Regions from separate parts of the Homo sapiens genome. Here region 1 is linked to region 2. Evidence: promoter capture Hi-C in human tissues and cell types (Jung and others, 2019). All regions are on one chromosome and are shown on one strand. Each heading gives the region's core, a stretch centred on a gene start or on the middle of the fragment in contact. The rest is flanking DNA. Distances are from core to core; before and after follow the strand shown. Region 1 has its middle 20 kb from the start of AMANZI. Region 2 holds the start of IL1A (interleukin 1 alpha).

The links. Contacts are between HindIII fragments. The study calls those that stand out against the background at their distance.
Region 1: a fragment that was not itself captured here is called in contact with the fragment with the promoter of IL1A in region 2 in 3 of the 25 tissues and cell types used here (H1 embryonic stem cells, liver and spleen).

Annotation. Positions count from the first base shown.
Region 1 is chr2:112,855,927-112,862,783 of GRCh38, reverse strand. No RefSeq gene overlaps it. Among named protein-coding and RNA genes, the nearest start is that of AMANZI, 20 kb to the right of the region's middle. The HindIII fragment of the contact is 6,957 bases long and covers 1,168-6,857 here.
Region 2 is chr2:112,780,779-112,787,449 of GRCh38, reverse strand. It overlaps IL1A (interleukin 1 alpha), which reads left to right and starts at 2,957. Exons shown (of 7, transcript NM_000575.5): 1 at 2,957-3,007; 2 at 3,672-3,726; 3 at 4,686-4,734; 4 at 5,624-5,846. The coding sequence starts at 3,680. The HindIII fragment of the contact is 8,255 bases long and covers 1,362-6,671 here.

The sequences.
Region 1 (6,857 bases), core at 3,397-5,896, 74 kb before region 2:
GTAAATAGGTTGCTGTTGTTTTCTTCTGAAGTTTAAGTTGTCTAGCTTCAGTTTGGAGGGCTTTACAAAAGCATAGCTTAGTTTTCAGTGACTCTCAATTAGGAAAACTTGGGGTGGAAAAGAAGAAAAAAAATTGAAAACATTATTTTAAAGACCTATAGCCAAGAAAAATTAGAATTCAGTCCAAACTGTAGAAAATAATAAAAATTGAAAAACATTAAGCAAGACTAGAATCTACCAACAAGTGTACTATAGTTTTATGAAACAATTTTTCTCTCTCCAGTTTCCCATTTTTACTAGACAAATCATGGTAGGACTGATTTTCTTTATTATACTTGAGCTGTTTATTTGTATACAGTGCAGCAAGAATAACTAGTTTTTGACGGACTTTTAAATTGGCTTTGATGTAACTTTGTTCCATAGAAGGAATCTCAAATAAGACTTTTGTAAAGCTGAGCCCAGCCATGGATTTGTACCATCAAAATACCTATGAGTTGGGTGAATTCCTCTCCTCTTGAGATTCCAAGATAAACTTTGGGCTCCTGGGCCTGTCAGAGTGACATTCTTTAATTACCACAGGTCAGGAACCCTGTACGGGGACTGGGTAGACAAGATATTAGGCCAGTTTTCCTAAGGGGCTTTTATTGGCTCCATAAGTCAAGTTTGATTCCTTAAAGTAAAGACAGCATTGCAGTCAAAGCCTTGGTAAAATAAACAGTTTGTCCAACTGTGTTCTGTTACAAATGAAAATAGATTCTTATTGTACTTATGTAAATATATTGCCATAAGTTAAGAATACTCAAAAATTGTTTCCAAATATATATAGAGAGAAACAAATATGCTCCAAATTGTGTTCACTGGAGTATACTTAATTGTTAAAAGCTGTCAATATCTCAACAGAAAAATTTCCTTGACTCTGAAAAACAAAACGAAGGATCAACATTTTAAGAAAAAAAGTCAAAAAGATTACTTCAGCATTCTTTTAGTTCCATCTATGAAGTTAATTCCTGTTTTGCTTGATATTCATGAATATTTCAGCACTCCATGAATACTGAAAGTTTTTCCTCTATTCTGATGTCACAGTCTCCAAAGCTATCTTAAGCCTGCATTCAAGAGCACCCGTTAGAGTTTTATAGCTGATTATAAAACCACCTTCTAAAGAGGACCAAAGCAAGACAATTGTCTGTGAATGGCAAAAAGTTTTAGGGCAACCATAGTCAAAGACACACTTGATGAGGAAATTTGTTACCTCCATGGCACACAATAATTTACCATAACAATTATAATTATTACTGATAATGTACACCAAGTCATATCAGAATTATAGGAGTTTCCTATAATTTTGGAACACATACCAATAACATATTTATACAAATACAGCCCAAACAAAACCAAACACTATTTCATATTTGACAATGCTTCCTGTAAAATTTTTATACCAAATAAGCCACATTATGTTACTTTTTTTTTTTTTTGGACTTTAGGGAACCTAGTATCTTAAAGGATTCATTAGGTCATAAAAAGACATAATTTGTAGTTTGATTTTGGAAAGTTTGTCAAATTTGAAAGGTTTAAAACACTTGATGAAAGGTCATTGTAAAATAAGTCATTCATTTGACCAAAGTGATAACTCAAGGATTAAAAAAAAAAAAAAAAAAGGTGAAAGCCTTCATTCTTTGAGAGACGAGACTTAATTTTCCAAACAATAAGCCCTAATAAAAACAGCATGAAGCCAATTAAATTTGTTTTCCAAAATTGTATTAACAATCTATGAAATTTTTATCTTGACCATAGCTATAACTTCCAGAAGCCTTTTATAACCTCTATAACCTTTATTAAGGAGTAGGTTAATGCTTCAAGAAAACCTTGTTAATCTGACACAGGACCCATATGCTGATCTTGCATCAGTGTGGCTTGGACATCAATGATTATGATTAATTTATAGAGAAATTGAACTTATTTTATCTCTCAAAATTGGCCCTTACAATCTCACACACCCACCTCTTCCACTATAGTTCCTGGGCCTTGAGTTGAATAGCTTTAATTTCTGGCTCTGTGTTTCAAGAATGCAGTTTATTTTGATTGGCATTTTCTACCAGTCCTGAAGATGAGCCTTTAATTGCTGTCAGTATTTAAGATTTAGCAGGACTTGTCCTTTTAAGACCCAGGAGTCAAGCCCTATAACTCAATGTCACAAGGACTTTAAAAGCACATACATAAAGATATATGGATGTAATAATCATAATTTTTAAAAAATTGTATTAATCTCAGTGTTTTCTAAGCAAACCAAAACTTAATAATAATGGCATAGAAATTATTTCAATAAAACATAAAATCTGTTAAGCCAGTTACCAAAAGGCAAAAGAAAAGACCTTCTGCAATGCACAGAATATTATGTTGGAAGAAAACATTTCCTTTAGACCTTTAAGAAAACATTGTTAGCATCAGGACACAACAAACAGAATCTGAGGGTAAAAAACGTATATGAGCTGAAGGGAGTTGAAGGAGGGCATTACTATTTCCCACCCTTTTAAAGGGGAGAGAAAACCTAAAACAGCAAGATGCAATAAAAGCTGAACTTTGGGTTAAAAAAAAATTCTTAAGTCTCTTATAATTTATTAAGAGTGAATCAACCCCGTAAGAAAATTTCATTGTTCTAACCAATTTTTTAATATATAAGTAGTTTTTTAACATCAACCCAATCTCTAGAAAGACCATTATAATTTCCCTTTAATTATAGACAACTTTATCATATAAAAGTTTTTTTAAATAAATCCTCTTATTGTGACTTACACAGACTATTCATGACATGCTTGGACTTTCTGGTTTGTCGTGAACATCCTTTTCTTTCTTTCTTTCTTTTTTAAATTTTACTTTACGTTCTGGGATACATGTGAAGAACATGGAGGTTTATTACGTAGGTGTACATGTGCCATGGTGGTTTGCTGCACCCATTAACCCGTCATCTATATTAGGTATTTTTCCTAATGTTATCCCTCCCCTTGCCCCCCACCTCCTGACAGGCCCTGGTGTGTGACATTCCCCTCCCTGTGTCCATGTGTTCTCATTGTTCAACTCCCACTTATGAGTGAGAACATGCAGTGTTTGGTTTTCTGTTCCTGTGTTAGTTTGCTGAGAATGATGGCTTCCAGCTTCATCCATGTCCCTGCAAAAGACATGAACTCATTCTTTTTTATGGCTGCATAGTATTCCATGGTGTATACGTGCCACATTTTTTTACCCAGTCTATCATTGGTGGGCATTAGGGTTGGTTCCAAGTCTTTGCTATTGTGAATAGTGCTGCAATAAACATACATGTGCATGTGTCTTTACAATAGAATGATTTCTAATCCTTTAGGTATATACCCAGTAATGGGATTGCTGGGTCAAATGGTATTTCTGGTTCCAGATCCTTGAGGAATTGCCACACTGTCTTCCACAATGGTTGAACTAACTGACACTCCCACCAACAGTGTAAAAGCATTCCTATTTCTCCACATCCTCTCCAGCATCTGTTGTTTCCTGACTTTTTAATAATCGCCATTCTAACTGGCATGAGATGGTATCTCATTGTGGTTTCAATTTGCATTTCTCTAATGACCAGTGATGATGAGCTTTTTTTCATGTTTGTTGGCCACATAAATGTCTTCTTCTGAGATGTGTCTGTTCATATCTTTTGCCCACTTTTTGATGGGTTTTTTTTTCTTGCAAATTTGTTTAAATTCCTTGTAGATTCTGGATATTAGCCCTTTGTCAGATGGATAGATTGAAAAAATTTTCTCCTATTCTGTAGGTTGCCTGTTCACTCTGACAATAGTTTCTTTTGCTGTGCAGAAGCTCTTCAGTTTAATTAGATCCCATTTGTCAATTGGCTTTTGTTGCAATTGCTTTTGGTGTTCTAATCATGAAGTCTTTGCTCATGCCTATGTCCTGAATGGTATTGCCTAGGTTTTCTTCTATGGTTTTTATGGTTTTAGGTCTTATGTTTAAATCCTTCTTTTTTTTTTTTTTTTTTTTTGAGATGGAGTCTTACTCTGTTGCCCAGGCTGGAGTGCAGTGGCGTGATCTCCACTCCCTGCAAGCTCCACCTCCTGGTTTCACATCATTCTCCTGCCTCAGCCTCCCAAGTAGCTGGGACTACAGGCGCCCACCACCATGCCCAGCTAATTTTTTGTATTTTTTAGTAGAGACAGGGTTTCACTGTGTTAGTCAGGATGGTCTCCATCTCCTGACCTCATGATCCACCCATCTCGGCCTCCCAAAGTGCTGGGATTACAGGCGTGAGCCACCATGCCCAGCCATGTTTAAATCTTTAATCCATCTTGAGTTGATTTTTGTATAAGTTGTAAGGAAGGGGTCCAGTTTCAGTTTTCAGCATATGGCTAACCAGTTTTCCCAACATCATTTATTAAATAGGGAATTATTTTCCCCATTGCTTATTTTTGTTAGGTTTGTCAAAGATCAGATGGTTGTAGATGTGTGGTGTTATATCTGAGGCCTCTGTTCTGTTCTTTTGGTCTATATATCTGTTTTGGTACCAGTACCATGCTGTTTTGGTTACTGCAGCCTTGTAGTATAGTTTGAAGTCAGGTAGCACAATGCCTCCAGCTTTGTTCTTTTTGCTTAGGATTGTCTTGGCTATTAGTTTTTTCTAATTCTGTGAAGAAAGTCAATGGTAGCTTGATGGGGATAGCATTGAATCTATAAATTACTTGGGCAGTATGGCCATTTTCACGATATTGATTCTTCCTATCCATAAGCATGGAATGTTTTTCCATTTGTTTGTTTCCTCTCTTATTTCCTTGAGCAGTGGTTTGCAGTTCACCCTGAAAAGGTCTTTCATGTCCATTGTAAGTTGTATTCCCAGGTATTTTATTCTCTTTGTAGCAATTGTGAATGGGAGTTCACTCATGATTTGGCTCTCTGTTAGTCTATTATTGGTGTATAGGAATGCCTGTGATTTTTGCACATTGATTTTGTATCCTGAGACTTTGCTGAAGTTGCTTATCAGCTTAAGGAGTTTTGGGGCTGAAATGATGGGGTTTTCTAAATATGCAATCATGCATCTGCAAACGGAGAAAATTTGACTTCCTCTCTTCCTATTTGAATACCCTTTATTTCTTTCTCTTGCTTGATTGCCCTGGCCAGAACTTCCGATACTATGTTGAATAGGAGTGGTGAGAGAGGACATCCTTGTCTTGTGCCAGTTCTCAAAGGGAATGTTTCCAGCTTTTGCCCATTCAGTATGATATTGGCTGTGGGTTTGTCATAAATAGCTTTGAACATCCCTTTCTTAGCCAGTCACTTTATTCTAGCACAAAATTTTAGGTAAGATTCTTTCTTACCTAAAATTATTTCTCTTTAAGCTTTCTTACCAAAAAATACCACTTTATTTCTATAATTTTCTTTACATTTCCCTTATTTCCTTGTTCCTTTTACCTTGTTTTATACATAACTTTTCAATAAGCTTTGAATTAGACAAAAATTATTCACCTTTTTAAAAGGACACTTTTTTTTTTAGAAAGAATGGTTTCCTACAATATGTTTTTCTTGGAAAATACCCAAATAATGAAATACTTATTATTTAATTTAACTTTAGATTCTAAATTATGGTGAGTTTGTCTACAAATATTTATCCCATTACATTTACCTAATTATTTTATTTTAACTGTTTATCTAGATTATTTATGAAAACTGTGATAGCCATCATTTAAAGTTATGAAACTGCCATCACTGAGACAGTGAAAAAGATCTGACCTAGCTGACTCCATTTTGCTTCTAACGTCCAAGCTGTCCTTGTTCATTCCTGGGCATAGGCTGAATTAACTTTGGGAGGAACTTAGTTTATAGTTTAGCTTTGAAACAAAAGATGATAACAGTCATTTTCCAAAACAAACCTCCTTCCTGCCTGTGGACTAGACTGCCTAAAGCCACAAAGTTAGAAGTTATGGTAATTTTACTAAATAATGCAAGATGTAGCTATTTTCATTAAACCAATAGTAATGTCTTTTTAATCAAAGATTGAAAAAGCAAAGATTATTCTGTTTTGGCTGGGTTTATAGTTTTGTAACCCCTATGCCAAATTTTGACACCTTATAGTATTTGACAGGGATAAGTATAAAATTGCTTGATTGATAAATCCAAACAAAAATGTATGCTGGGAATGATTTTGTTTCAGGGCAGTCATTACTTAATTTTTAAAACTCTTATTTAAATTTGCAATGTTTTAAATGAACATCACTTAAAGTAGTAATCAACAGAGGTTAGGAGAACATAACAATACTCTTTCTCTTAGAAAATACAACAAAAATATAATTTTTTACAGTTTTGCTCCCAAACTTTTCTCTGTAATAACATGCCTTACTCACCTTTACAATAGGTTTGTTGTGAGAATCTTGTAATGTAAACCCTGGGTGTTCTGTGAAGCATTTTTAAACTTCTAGTTTACACTGACTCTTATTCAAGTGTTTTTAAAAATATATTTAAAAAACTGGCCAGGTGCAGTGGCTCACACCTGTAATCCCAGCACTTTGGGAGGCCAAGGCGGGCAGATCACAAGGTCAGGAGTTTGAGACCAGCCTAGCCAACATAGTAAAACCTCGTGTCTACTAAAAATACAAAAATTAGCTGGGCGTGGTGGCGGGCGCCTGTAGTCCCAGCTACTCAGGAGGCTGAGGCAGAAGAATCGCTTGAACCCGGGAGGCAGAGGTTGTGGTGAACCAAGTTTGCGCCACTGCACTCCAGCCTGGACGACAGAGCAAGACTCCATCTCAAAAAAAATATATATATATATATATATTTTAAAAACTGTTCTTCTCTTTCCAATATTTTTATAATTTCCAAGAGATTTTAAGGAT
Region 2 (6,671 bases), core at 1,708-4,207:
TTACTTCAGTCACCTTCATTCAGGTCTTACATATCACAGAATAAAATCAGATTTCATCAGAGGAGGTGAAGACAGGGAGAGGAGATATTTCAATCCCTTCTCCGCAACCCCCGTTTTTTTTTTTTTTTTAACAAGGATCCTAGAGTTACTGAATGATAGCACGTTTGAGGGGGAAAGACCCTAAGGATGATCTTTATAAGCCATCACTTGGTGTTGGTGGTGATAAGAGACTCGAGTATCTTTATGCAGTGGAAAGAGAAGATTGGACTCGGAATCAGAAGCTTGAGTTCAAGCACTGGTTTCATCAGTCTTGTGATCTTGGGTTGGTCACTTAACCTCTTCAAGGGTCCTCAGCTGTGAAAGAGGATAGTATCAGCTAATTCTTGTAGGTGCAGTGAGGAGGCAGTGAGATAGTGCAGGTAAACTATAAAACAATTGTCACATGAAACGCATCACAGTGATTCTTTGGACCCACAAGCTCCAATCTTATAAAACATATCCAGTCACCCACCAACATAGATCATCTCACCTTGCATATCTGATTTTGTGGATCATGGGGAAAAACTGCTGATTCCTAGCAAAACCCATGGCATAGGATAAGTGCACAATAATTTTTTTTTCCTAAATGATTTAGATGACAGTGACTCATTAAGGGTTTCCTGAGGCCTCCTCAGAGTCGAGAGGTGGGTGCCTGAAGCCACCCAAAGTCCCTGTCACAGGATGGCTCCCAACGCACACACCACAGGCCTGCCCAGTATGTTCCACTATCTACCCAGTAGAGCCCTGCCCAGTACGTTCCACTGTCCCTTCCCTAGAAGAGGTGACTGTTGTTCACAGTCCCAGAAAAGCGGGCTCCCCAAAACAATGCAAGGACCCACCTCTCTCTGAACCTCACCCACCCTAGTTTTCCTTTAAAAATCAATTTACAAGAAGATCATGTGAAGGAAAAGGTTGGGTGATATTCTAACCCAAGTTAGCTGTTTCTCAACCAAGTTCTCTTTGAAAAATTCAACAACCACCTTTGGGGAATTATTTACAACAGAGGAGTGAGGATGGGACCAGGATAGGTATTGCCTATGTTGGTGGAACCAGGGTTTTTTTCCTGGATTACCAAAGAGATGGTATGCATTGCTCCCAGAAGCTAAATATCTTCAGGCTTTCAATGGTGGCCTTCACCTGAAAATGTTATCCCTGTTGAAGCTTTCAAGCCAGTATTTTCATAAGAACTATATTTTCTTTGGTGAACTGAGGCATTATAATGATGACTATACAGGTTCTTGAGTGACTGAAGCCATCATTAGCATTGTCATTATTTTTGTTTAGTTGCATCTCCATAGCAGCTCACATTCACAATGTGCTTTGCAATTGTTCCTTAGCAATAGCCCTCACAAGATTCTCAGGAGGAGAGGGTTAATCAGGATTAACATTTCTGTGTTGCCTAAAGAGGAACCAAGGTAAGCAGAAATGTAGCCAGTTGGCTGGCATCACTGTTGCTTCAGGATTCATCCTTAGACACCCAAGCTTCTACCCTAGTCTGGTGCTACACTTACATTGCTTACATCCAAGTGTGGTTATTTCTGTGGCTCCTGTTATAACTATTATAGCACCAGGTCTATGACCAGGAGAATTAGACTGGCATTAAATCAGAATAAGAGATTTTGCACCTGCAATAGACCTTATGACACCTAACCAACCCCATTATTTACAATTAAACAGGAACAGAGGGAATACTTTATCCAACTCACACAAGCTGCTTTCCTCCCAGATCCATGCTTTTTTGCGTTTATTATTTTTTAGAGATGGGGGCTTCACTATGTTGCCCACACTGGACTAAAACTCTGGGCCTCAAGTGATTGTCCTGCCTCAGCCTCCTGAATAGCTGGGACTACAGGGGCATGCCATCACACCTAGTTCATTTCCTCTATTTAAAATATACATGGCTTAAACTCCAACTGGGAACCCAAAACATTCATTTGCTAAGAGTCTGGTGTTCTACCACCTGAACTAGGCTGGCCACAGGAATTATAAAAGCTGAGAAATTCTTTAATAATAGTAACCAGGCAACACCATTGAAGGCTCATATGTAAAAATCCATGCCTTCCTTTCTCCCAATCTCCATTCCCAAACTTAGCCACTGGCTTCTGGCTGAGGCCTTACGCATACCTCCCGGGGCTTGCACACACCTTCTTCTACAGAAGACACACCTTGGGCATATCCTACAGAAGACCAGGCTTCTCTCTGGTCCTTGGTAGAGGGCTACTTTACTGTAACAGGGCCAGGGTGGAGAGTTCTCTCCTGAAGCTCCATCCCCTCTATAGGAAATGTGTTGACAATATTCAGAAGAGTAAGAGGATCAAGACTTCTTTGTGCTCAAATACCACTGTTCTCTTCTCTACCCTGCCCTAACCAGGAGCTTGTCACCCCAAACTCTGAGGTGATTTATGCCTTAATCAAGCAAACTTCCCTCTTCAGAAAAGATGGCTCATTTTCCCTCAAAAGTTGCCAGGAGCTGCCAAGTATTCTGCCAATTCACCCTGGAGCACAATCAACAAATTCAGCCAGAACACAACTACAGCTACTATTAGAACTATTATTATTAATAAATTCCTCTCCAAATCTAGCCCCTTGACTTCGGATTTCACGATTTCTCCCTTCCTCCTAGAAACTTGATAAGTTTCCCGCGCTTCCCTTTTTCTAAGACTACATGTTTGTCATCTTATAAAGCAAAGGGGTGAATAAATGAACCAAATCAATAACTTCTGGAATATCTGCAAACAACAATAATATCAGCTATGCCATCTTTCACTATTTTAGCCAGTATCGAGTTGAATGAACATAGAAAAATACAAAACTGAATTCTTCCCTGTAAATTCCCCGTTTTGACGACGCACTTGTAGCCACGTAGCCACGCCTACTTAAGACAATTACAAAAGGCGAAGAAGACTGACTCAGGCTTAAGCTGCCAGCCAGAGAGGGAGTCATTTCATTGGCGTTTGAGTCAGCAAAGGTATTGTCCTCACATCTCTGGCTATTAAAGTATTTTCTGTTGTTGTTTTTCTCTTTGGCTGTTTTCTCTCACATTGCCTTCTCTAAAGCTACAGCCTCTCCTTTCTTTTCTTGTCCCTCCCTGGTTTGGTATGTGACCTAGAATTACAGTCAGATTTCAGAAAATGATTCTCTCATTTTGCTGATAAGGACTGATTCGTTATACTGAGGGACAGCAGAACTAGTTTCCTATGAGGGCATGGGTGAATACAACTGAGGCTTCTCATGGGAGGGAATCTCTACTATCCAAAATTATTAGGAGAAAATTGAAAATTTCCAACTCTGTCTCTCTCTTACCTCTGTGTAAGGCAAATACCTTATTCTTGTGGTGTTTTTGTAACCTCTTCAAACTTTCATTGATTGAATGCCTGTTCTGGCAATACATTAGGTTGGGCACATAAGGAATACCAACATAAATAAAACATTCTAAAAGAAGTTTACGATCTAATAAAGGAGACAGGTACATAGCAAACTAATTCAAAGGAGCTAGAAGATGGAGAAAATGCTGAATGTGGACTAAGTCATTCAACAAAGTTTTCAGGAAGCACAAAGAGGAGGGGCTCCCCTCACAGATATCTGGATTAGAGGCTGGCTGAGCTGATGGTGGCTGGTGTTCTCTGTTGCAGAAGTCAAGATGGCCAAAGTTCCAGACATGTTTGAAGACCTGAAGAACTGTTACAGGTAAGGAATAAGATTTATCTCTTGTGATTTAATGAGGGTTTCAAGGCTCACCAGAATCCAGCTAGGCATAACAGTGGCCAGCATGGGGGCAGGCCGGCAGAGGTTGTAGAGATGTGTACTAGTCCTGAAGTCAGAGCAGGTTCAGAGAAGACCCAGAAAAACTAAGCATTCAGCATGTTAAACTGAGATTACATTGGCAGGGAGACCGCCATTTTAGAAAAATTATTTTTGAGGTCTGCTGAGCCCTACATGAATATCAGCATCAACTTAGACACAGCCTCTGTTGAGATCACATGCCCTGATATAAGAATGGGTTTTACTGGTCCATTCTCAGGAAAACTTGATCTCATTCAGGAACAGGAAATGGCTCCACAGCAAGCTGGGCATGTGAACTCACATATGCAGGCAAATCTCACTCAGATGTAGAAGAAAGGTAAATGAACACAAAGATAAAATTACGGAACATATTAAACTAACATGATGTTTCCATTATCTGTAGTAAATACTAACACAAACTAGGCTGTCAAAATTTTGCCTGGATATTTTACTAAGTATAAATTATGAAATCTGTTTTAGTGAATACATGAAAGTAATGTGTAACATATAATCTATTTGGTTAAAATAAAAAGGAAGTGCTTCAAAACCTTTCTTTTCTCTAAAGGAGCTTAACATTCTTCCCTGAACTTCAATTAAAGCTCTTCAATTTGTTAGCCAAGTCCAATTTTTACAGATAAAGCACAGGTAAAGCTCAAAGCCTGTCTTGATGACTACTAATTCCAGATTAGTAAGATATGAATTACTCTACCTATGTGTATGTGTAGAAGTCCTTAAATTTCAAAGATGACAGTAATGGCCATGTGTATGTGTGTGACCCACAACTATCATGGTCATTAAAGTACATTGGCCAGAGACCACACTGAAATAACAACAATTACATTCTCATCATCTTATTTTGACAGTGAAAATGAAGAAGACAGTTCCTCCATTGATCATCTGTCTCTGAATCAGGTAAGCAAATGACTGTAATTCTCATGGGACTGCTATTCTTACACAGTGGTTTCTTCATCCAAAGAGAACAGCAATGACTTGAATCTTCAATACTTTTGTTTTACCCTCACTAGAGGTCCAGAGACCTGTCTTTCATTATAAGTGAGACCAGCTGCCTCTCTAAACTAATAGTTGATGTGCATTGGCTTCTCCCAGAACAGAGCAGAACCATCCCAAATCCCTGAGAACTGGAGTCTCCTGGGGCAGGCTTCATCAGGATGTTAGTTATGCCATCCTGAGAAAGGCCCCGCAGGCCGCTTCACCAGGTGTCTGTCTCCTAACGTGATGTGTTGTGGTTGTCTTCTCTGACACCAGCATCAGAGGTTAGAGAAAGTCTCCAAACATGAAGCTGAGAGAGAGGAAGCAAGCCAGTTGAAAGTGAGAAGTCTACAGCCACTCATCAATCTGTGTTATTGTGTTTGGAGACCACAAATAGACACTATAAGTACTGCCTAGTATGTCTTCAGTACTGGCTTTAAAAGCTGTCCCCAAAGGAGTATTTCTAAAATATTTTGAGCATTGTTAAGCAGATTTTTAACCTCCTGAGAGGGAACTAATTGGAAAGCTACCACTCACTACAATCATTGTTAACCTATTTAGTTACAACATCTCATTTTTGAGCATGCAAATAAATGAAAAAGTCTTCCTAAAAAAATCATCTTTTTATCCTGGAAGGAGGAAGGAAGGTGAGACAAAAGGGAGAGAGGGAGGGAAGCCTAATGAAACACCAGTTACCTAAGACCAGAATGGAGATCCTCCTCACTACCTCTGTTGAATACAGCACCTACTGAAAGAACTTTCATTCCCTGACCATGAACAGCCTCTCAGCTTCTGTTTTCCTTCCTCACAGAAATCCTTCTATCATGTAAGCTATGGCCCACTCCATGAAGGCTGCATGGATCAATCTGTGTCTCTGAGTATCTCTGAAACCTCTAAAACATCCAAGCTTACCTTCAAGGAGAGCATGGTGGTAGTAGCAACCAACGGGAAGGTTCTGAAGAAGAGACGGTTGAGTTTAAGCCAATCCATCACTGATGATGACCTGGAGGCCATCGCCAATGACTCAGAGGAAGGTAAGGGGTCAAGCACAATAATATCTTTCTTTTACAGTTTTAAGCAAGTAGGGACAGTAGAATTTAGGGGAAAATTAAACGTGGAGTCAGAATAACAAGAAGACAACCAAGCATTAGTCTGGTAACTATACAGAGGAAAATTAATTTTTATCCTTCTCCAGGAGGGAGAAATGAGCAGTGGCCTGAATCGAGAATACTTGCTCACAGCCATTATTTCTTAGCCATATTGTAAAGGTCGTGTGACTTTTAGCCTTTCAGGAGAAAGCAGTAATAAGACCACTTACGAGCTATGTTCCTCTCATACTAACTATGCCTCCTTGGTCATGTTACATAATCTTTTCGTGATTCAGTTTCCTCTACTGTAAAATGGAGATAATCAGAATCCCCCACTCATTGGACTGCTGTAAAGATTAAGAGTCTCAGGCTTTACAGACTGAGCTAGCTGGGCCCTCCTGACTGTTATAAAGATTAAATGAGTCAACATCCCCTAACTTCTGGACTAGAATAATGTCTGGTACAAAGTAAGCACCCAATAAATGTTAGCTATTACTATCATTATTATTATTATTTTATTTTATTTTTTTGAGATGGAGTCTGGCTCTGTCACCCAGGCTGGAGTGCAGTGGCGCAATCTCGGCTCACTGCAAGCTCTGCCTCCTGGGTTCATGCCATTCTCCTGCCTCAGCCTCCTGAGTAGCTGGGAATACAGGCACCCGCCACTGTTCCCGGCTAATTTTTTGTATTTTTAGTAGAGACGGAGTTTCACCGTGGTCTCCATCTCCTCGTGATCCACCCACCTTGGCCTCCCAAAGTGCCGGGATTACA